Regions from separate parts of the Homo sapiens genome. Here region 2 is linked to region 1. Evidence: promoter capture Hi-C in human tissues and cell types (Jung and others, 2019). All regions are on one chromosome and are shown on one strand. Each heading gives the region's core, a stretch centred on a gene start or on the middle of the fragment in contact. The rest is flanking DNA. Distances are from core to core; before and after follow the strand shown. Region 1 holds the start of NEFH (neurofilament heavy chain). Region 2 overlaps NF2 (NF2, moesin-ezrin-radixin like (MERLIN) tumor suppressor).

Region 1 (4,110 bases), core at 781-3,280:
AAGGGACAGCGCCATCAATTTCCCAGCTCTGAGGGTCTGCTTAGAACTAGGGGGCTGGAAGGAGACAGAGGGCAAAGAGAAAGGAACTGGCAGAGGTCTTTCCTGGGGGATATGTCTGTTCTGTCCTGGGGATCCTGGAGCAGGAAAACCCGCGTAAAGTAGGGGTGTAGTGGGTGTTGAGATAACTGCCTGGGGGAGGTTCAGAGTGGAAGTACGAGTCTACAAACTCTCAAGGGCGTCTCAGGGCTCCCAGCATCCCCAGGGGTCCTTTCGCAGGGGTCCCTAAGCAGGAGGGGAACAGCCCAGAAAACACGGAACTGGACCCCCGACAGGAAGTCCAGGGAGGGGTCCCTGGCTCACTATGTGACCCTGCTGGATCACTTGCCTCCCCTCTCGGGTCCCCTCAGCACAGTGTCCCTCCCTTCCTTCCCCTAAAGTAAAAGCAGAGGGTTAATCTCTTTCCCCGCCCCACGCCCAACAAAGAGCAGGCCCTGTCCCCGGTGCTGAAGCGCCAGCCGCAGCACCACCCCCACTCCCACAGCATAAAACATGAGCCAAAACCAATAAAGAGCCAAATGTCACAGCCGTTGCAGGGCCCCCTAAATCCTGGGGACCCCTTCTTCTACCTGACATCCTATTGGGGTGAGGGACTTTGGTACTCAGAAAGCATCTCATCACTTCCCTGTAAGAGAGAAGGGATGCCGACTCAGGCGCCTGCTTGTCTGTTACAGGAGTGGGGGAAGAGAGGACAAGTTGAGGCTGAGAAGATGGGGAGGGGGAGGGAGAAAAGAGGACTTCCTAGTGTTGACAGAACGGCAAGATGTGGGTTCCCCATCCCCAGTTCAGCCAGAGACCCCTCAAAGTGGAACTTCCTGGGGCAGTCGGGGGTCAGGAGTTGGAGCTTGTCTCTGGGGCAAGACCCCTTCGTTGTACAGATGGAAAAACAAGGGTGGGAGGACACAGCTTGTCCAAGGTCATTCGACCAGCAAACTGCCTAGCTGACCCCAGTGTGCAGAAGCTGGCTCGGGTGACACCCATCATTTCCCCCCACCCCACACAGGGGCCAGCTCTCTCAACTTCATGCCCAAGCCCTCCTACGGTACCCCCACTGTAGGTTCTCTGCCCCTCAAACTCAGCCCAGCTTTCTCCTGCCTGTTCAGGGGACCTTCTGCCCGCTTCGCTGAGGGTCCGTCCCCTTTACTGGGGCTGGCAGCAGGGTCTCCCATCTCCTCTCTCGGGGGCCACTGCAGACTTTTTAGAGAACGCCTTGCCTCCCCCCAACCCCACCCATCCGGGGTTCCCTCTCTCCATCCTCTGCAGTGTCTCCCATACCCCCATTCAGGGTAGCCTTGCTATTCTCCCCAACTCCAGGTCCCCCTTCATCTATTCCGGGGCTGGCCGCGGAGTTTCCTGAGCGCTCTCCAAGTGGGTCCTCTAGATGTTAGGAGAACACTGTACCTCCCCCGGTCAGGGGTCTCCTGTCTCCGTTCTATGGAGCGTCCATGCTCCCATTCAGGACTGCCTTGCTCCCTCCTCTGTTCCGGGGCTGGCTGCACAGTCTCTGCACCCCCTATCCTGAAAGCCTCTCTTAACTATTTGGAAAGCCTCGTGTCCTGTCTCATACAGGGATCCCCTCATCCTAATGACTGCAATCTTCCATTGCTCCATCCCGAGGGCATCCTGCCCCTATTCCCATCAGGTTTCTCCTTGTCCTCTCCCTGTTTCAAGTCCCCTTTCTTATTCCGAACACACTCGCAGGCTCTTCCGACGCGCACCCGGGGGTCCTCACTGGCCCACTCCGGGAGTCCTCTGCCCGCTTCCCCGACCTCGAGGGTCTCCTCTGACGCAGCGTCGATTCCCCTTCCCTCCTCGGTCCCCTGCCCCGCCCCTCTCACTGCGGCGGAGCCGGTCGGCCGGGGGGCCGCAGGGGAGGAGGCGGAGAGGGCGGGGCCCTCCTCCCCACCCTCTCACTGCCAAGGGGTTGGACCCGGCCGCGGCGGCTATAAAAGGGCCGGCGCCCTGGTGCTGCCGCAGTGCCTCCCGCCCCGTCCCGGCCTCGCGCACCTGCTCAGGCCATGATGAGCTTCGGCGGCGCGGACGCGCTGCTGGGCGCCCCGTTCGCGCCGCTGCATGGCGGCGGCAGCCTCCACTACGCGCTAGCCCGAAAGGGTGGCGCAGGCGGGACGCGCTCCGCCGCTGGCTCCTCCAGCGGCTTCCACTCGTGGACACGGACGTCCGTGAGCTCCGTGTCCGCCTCGCCCAGCCGCTTCCGTGGCGCAGGCGCCGCCTCAAGCACCGACTCGCTGGACACGCTGAGCAACGGGCCGGAGGGCTGCATGGTGGCGGTGGCCACCTCACGCAGTGAGAAGGAGCAGCTGCAGGCGCTGAACGACCGCTTCGCCGGGTACATCGACAAGGTGCGGCAGCTGGAGGCGCACAACCGCAGCCTGGAGGGCGAGGCTGCGGCGCTGCGGCAGCAGCAGGCGGGCCGCTCCGCTATGGGCGAGCTGTACGAGCGCGAGGTCCGCGAGATGCGCGGCGCGGTGCTGCGCCTGGGCGCGGCGCGCGGTCAGCTACGCCTGGAGCAGGAGCACCTGCTCGAGGACATCGCGCACGTGCGCCAGCGCCTAGACGACGAGGCCCGGCAGCGAGAGGAGGCCGAGGCGGCGGCCCGCGCGCTGGCGCGCTTCGCGCAGGAGGCCGAGGCGGCGCGCGTGGACCTGCAGAAGAAGGCGCAGGCGCTGCAGGAGGAGTGCGGCTACCTGCGGCGCCACCACCAGGAAGAGGTGGGCGAGCTGCTCGGCCAGATCCAGGGCTCCGGCGCCGCGCAGGCGCAGATGCAGGCCGAGACGCGCGACGCCCTGAAGTGCGACGTGACGTCGGCGCTGCGCGAGATTCGCGCGCAGCTTGAAGGCCACGCGGTGCAGAGCACGCTGCAGTCCGAGGAGTGGTTCCGAGGTACGCAGGCGCGCGGGTGGGGGGAGGGGCGCCCCTGCTGACCCCGCAGCGAACTTTTGGGCTGCGTGACCCAAGGGGGCGCTGCCGGACTGCGCGTGGAGTGGCGCGCTGCTCACCTTCCCTCTGCAAAGTGCATGCCCCTAGTTAAATCGCAGTTTTACTCTGGGTCTCTTGTGGGACGCCCCAACTCTGGGTTGTCCTTCGGTTCCCCCTTTCCAGGTTCTTTACGGCTGTACTTCAACTCTGGGCCCCCTGCTGCTCTCTACCCCAAGCTTAGGCGACCCCACTCTGAGATCCCTCCCCCGTCAAGAAAAAAACAAGTTTCCTCTACAGGAAAAAAGTGGTGCAGGATTCTGGTCTGCAAGCGCTGGAGACTCTTAGCCCTTCTAAGTAGCAAGGCTTCCCCGCCAATGCTGCCATGCCCTCTCCTACACCCCGCAAGAAACTCTATTCCTCTCACCCCTACCAGGCTCCTTCCCACTACCTGCTCAGTGCTTAACGTTCCTACCTTAAATCTTCCACGTGGGGGTGGGTCAGGACCTTTTCGCATCCTTTCTTCCTAGAGGGAACCATTACTACAGTCAGTTGTTGCCTGTGGCGGAGGTGGCTGGTGGGCCCTTTCATGTTTTAATGTCCCCTTTCTCCTTTAGGGAAGCTGGGAGCCTCCCAAGTCTGCCCCTCCCCCAACTCCTTGCAGCCCTGAGTCAGCTAGATTGCGCTGCCCTGAGGCTGTGCCCAGCAGCTGCAGGGTGACCTTGACCAACACTTGCCCTCTCTGGTTTTCATTTCTTTTTGAGTTGAAAGAGGAGGGTAGATCAACTGGGCTGCTTAATCCGGGGAGTTCCATGATGTCTCACGAAACTGTCTGTAAAACTTTGCGTTGTTTTTGAGAGAGAGGGCAGAGGCTTCAGTGATTTTCCAAAAGCATCTGTGATCGACAATAGTTGAGAATCTCCAACCACCTGGATGGTTTCTAAGTCTTTGCCAGCACTAGCAGGGAAAGCTGGGATTTTGATGCATAGCTTTTTCTGTTCCTTTTCCACTCCTCTGCAGAGCAGAACCATCCCCTCCTCCATCTCCGCAGCAAGGCCCCTCCCTGCGCAAACCTCTTTTGGGTTTGCCAGTCGTAGGGGCAGACGTCCCAGGATTGTA
Region 2 (4,110 bases), core at 1,611-4,110, 160 kb after region 1:
AGCAACATGTTGAGGTTAGATTTAACCAAACAGAAAGACTTCTTAATTGCTTAAAGACAAAATTTTATTTTATAAGTGGAATTAGGGCTTTAAATCAAATATGTTTGAACGTCTTTACTTGGTTTCCTCAGGCACCTTCACTCATCTTGTCTAAAACTTAATTGCTGGTCTATCCCTGCCAGATTTGCTGCTTCTCCTTGATTCCATCTCTCCTTTAGTGGAACCACCTGGTACTCAAGCCAGACACACAGGTGTCCCTCTTAATTCTGTCTCCTCTGGTCCTGTTCAGGCACCTGTTCTGTGACTCTGCCTCTTTTCCGTTTCTCAGGCTGCCTTCTCTCCCTTCTACTGCCTTCCTTATGTCAGGGGTTGGCCTACTTTCTGGCCTTCTTGATCCAGGGCTTCTTTTGTTCAACTCATACTCCACCCTGTTGTCAGAGCCCATCCAGATTGCAGATTGGAGCCTATGACTCGTCTGCTCAAGGGTCTTCAAAGACTTTGCAGCTTTTGGCTGAAGTTGAGCCACCTGGTCCCAAATGGAGCCCCATTCCCGCCATGCCACCTCCTGTCTGTTTAAGCTTTACAAGATGACTTGCAGTTTCCTGTAGAAAGCATGACTTTTAAAAAAAGACTTATTTCCTTCTCTCCTGCATCTAACTCTCACTTGCTCTTTAAAGCCTTCTCTGACCTAGGTCTTGCCTGTTTCTCCTGCAGAACACTGCTTCCACCATTTTGTAGCATCAGTGTCTAACATTGGTTGGCATGTAGGGTGTGCTCTATAATCCTTGTTGAAAGAATAAGTGGGAGGTAACAGAGGCTTAATTCACATTGAGCTGTAAACGAGCAATATCTGACTCTTCTGAGAATGGATTTTGTTTCAAACACTGGTTACTTACTGGAAAAGGTGTCTGGGGAGTGCTGGACAGCAAGAACAAAGGGACCCCACAGAACAGGAAAAGAGGCACTCTAGGGTCTGCGGTTTGCCTATGTTAGATCACCGTGAAAAAGGCCAGTGTATGCTTTGGCAGCTGGCAAAGAATCCTGTGACTCAGTTTCCTTATTTGCACAAAAAGGGTATGAGTCTACATTAGGTAATTACTCATGCTCATTTCCAACTCTTGACAGTCTACGATCCTTTGTGTCAAAGTTAAAAATCTAAGTAGGGCATTCTGAATTGGTGTCAGAGTTGATGCACTTCTCACTGTATTGCAAGTGCCAAGGGGACAAATACATTGTCTTTTTGCATTCAACAAAGACAGTTTTGCATTTTAAAAACAAAGTAGAAGGGAATACAGGAAAACTGCATTAATACAATTTTATGCTGGAGAATTTAAACTCCCATGTCAGGAAATTCACTCATCATTCCCTTGGCAGCTTTTGTTTCTCTGCACTGCACACCCCACTTACAGACAGCCCCTTCTTGCCAAAGCCCAGCCCAGCCATGACCATGAGTTATGGCAGATTGGGAATCGTTACCTTGATCTTCTCAACCCTTGGGTGTTTACCTTTTCCAAGTTAATGCCTGTTCTTTAATGTTACATTATCTTGTAGCAAGGTAGTCATTTATAATTTATATACTAGAGCTGCCTTAAAATAGAGACAAGAGGATAATCAGCATCCTGAAACTTCTAGTTTTCCAAAATAACATTTCTTCAGTGAAGTCTGCCTGTAGGAATTAAAACTTTTGGTGAATTAAAAAGCTTTTTGTCCTATTGTCAGACTGGGAAATGGATGTGCCCATTACTCAGCCTTAAAAACGAGGAAGGAGATCATCTGTTAAAAATAAAACTCATCATTTTCTTTTATTCTTCTCAAAATAATCCCTAAAGACCTCAATCTTTATAGTGTTCCAGTGGCCCCACTATAGTCAGAGAGGAGACAGGGCAGAAGTTGAAGGACAGATAGGAGAAACGGCCCTGCTAAAAGATAAAAGCCAGTATGCATCTCAGCTACTTGTCTGCTGTGGTCCTGATATTCTTCCATCTAGGTTGCTGCTTTGCTTGACTTTGACTGCAAACACAGAGAAGGGATGGGCTTTCCTGTTGAGTACCTTGTAGAGAACCCACTGTTCATTCATATGTGTTAAAAATGAAAAGCCTACTTGAAAACTCCCCTGTAGAATCAGGTTTTAGCAAAAACCAATCAGGTATCAGAGGTCTAACTTATTTTTCCCTTCTTGGTTTTATAGCAAGTCTCTAAACCCTAAGATTTTTTGTTTGTTTGTTTGAGATGGAGTCTTGCTTTGTCGCCAGGCTGGAGTGCAGTGGCATGATCTCGGCTCACTGCAACCTCCGCCTCCCGGTTTCGAGTGATTCCCCTGCCTCAGCCTCCCGAGTAGCTGGGACTACAGGCATGCGCTACCACACCTGGCTAATTTTTTAGTATTTTACTAGAGACAGGGTTTCACCATGTTGGCCAGGATGGTCTCGATCTCCTGACCTCATGATTCGCCTGCCTCAGCCTCCCAAAGTGCTGGGATTACAGGTGTGAACCACCACGCCCGGCTGCCTAAGAATTTTTTTCATTCCTTTTCATTATATACATCTTCAGTGTGCCAAGACTTTGAGTGGAGATTTCTAATGAGGGCAGGAAGGGACGGATGCTTCTGCAATTGAGTGGTCTCATTTTTCCCATGTCTGTCGAAAGATTACTCTTTCATGACCACCATTTCTATGATGCATCTCATATGATCCTAATGCACTCGAGTTTGTATTTGAATGTCCATCTGATATTTAGGGGTGGTTGGGGCAAGGAGGGGGCAAGCAGCAACTAAGGGGTTGTATGGGAACATCCTGGTGGTTTAACTTGAAAGCCACTAGGTGGCAACATTTACTAAGTTGCCAGCCATTCTCTTCCCTTAAGACATTGAACTTGCTTTTCCACATAGCAGATGGAATAGCTGAGAAAAGAGATTGCCATTGCTTCAGGTTCTTTTGAAAGTGAGGCTATAGGATAAACACACTACAGTATATTGATATCTATTCGTCACCTGGGTTTAGATACCAGGAGTTTGAATTTGCTCTGGGTGACTGGGTGAGTAGCTTCCCCTTTGGCCTCAGTTAGGCATCCTTGACAGGACAGACCTGTGATTGGACTGTCTGGTCTCTCATGGTTCTTTTTCTCCATGATTTATGACTTTGATTATGATTTCTTTATATTAAAAAAAAACTTGTAGTAAAACCAGTCTTATTTAAAGGAATACTAGCCTTTTATCAAAGGGCAAAGTAATGATTTAAAAAAAAAATCAACAACAAAATTTCAAGGGAATGAATGTCCCTAGAAGCTAGCCATCTCCCCGAGTTAACTTAAGAGGCTAGACTCTCCTAAATGAGGATGCTTATTTACCAGCTTTCCTAAATTAGCAGCTTTGGAGATGTTAAAATCCGTAAGGAACTGTCCAAGGGATGTATTGTGTATGCTTTGCAGTGATTAAGCCATTAAGCTCTAATTGGTATTTTCCCACTCATGGGTTTGTAAAGGAAGCTTTAAAATTATTTAGGAATTCAGTCCTCATCAGCTGTCTTAGTGTCATCCCCACGTTTTGGAACCTGAGAGTGGAGAGTGCAGAGAAAAGGTTTTATTAATGATTTTTGCTCACAGTGTCCTTCCCCATTGGTTTGTTATTGCAGATGAAGTGGAAAGGGAAGGACCTCTTTGATTTGGTGTGCCGGACTCTGGGGCTCCGAGAAACCTGGTTCTTTGGACTGCAGTACACAATCAAGGACACAGTGGCCTGGCTCAAAATGGACAAGAAGGTTGGGCTAGAACTCGATGAAACTGGTGGGGCTGACGTGAGCTTTCCAGTTTTTCCCTGAGCAGGCGCCTAGCTCATCACTGGGGCGCTGTAGCTGTATAGTAGAGAAGGGGGCACATTCCTGAATTAAGTCATGCAGAAAGCAGGACGTAGAGATGCTACCAGTTTCCTTCTCCTCACAGGCTCTCCTGGGCAAGCAGAAGTTACCAGGATTAGACTGCTGCTGGCCCTGGCTTCTTTACCCATTGTTACCAGCCTGATTGCTTCTGGCTTTATGCCTTTCAGTTTATGAATAAAAACTTCATGAATAAAAATTACTGTTATCTTCATATACTTAAAAATAACCAATTTGTGTC

What was found. Contacts are between HindIII fragments. The study calls those that stand out against the background at their distance.
Region 2: a contact is called between a fragment that was not itself captured here and the fragment with the promoter of NEFH in region 1, in 2 of the 25 tissues and cell types used here (dorsolateral prefrontal cortex and liver).

Annotation. Positions count from the first base shown.
Region 1 is chr22:29,478,188-29,482,297 of GRCh38, forward strand. NEFH (neurofilament heavy chain) reads left to right here and starts at 2,031. Exons shown (of 4, transcript NM_021076.4): 1 at 2,031-2,958. The coding sequence starts at 2,076. RefSeq lists enhancers at 1-492, 3,053-3,907. The HindIII fragment of the contact is 10,845 bases long and covers 1-4,110 here.
Region 2 is chr22:29,633,122-29,637,231 of GRCh38, forward strand. NF2 (NF2, moesin-ezrin-radixin like (MERLIN) tumor suppressor) reads left to right here. Exons shown (of 16, transcript NM_000268.4): 2 at 3,630-3,755. Among named protein-coding and RNA genes, the nearest start is that of NF2, 32 kb to the left of the region's middle. The HindIII fragment of the contact is 3,442 bases long and covers 1,140-4,110 here.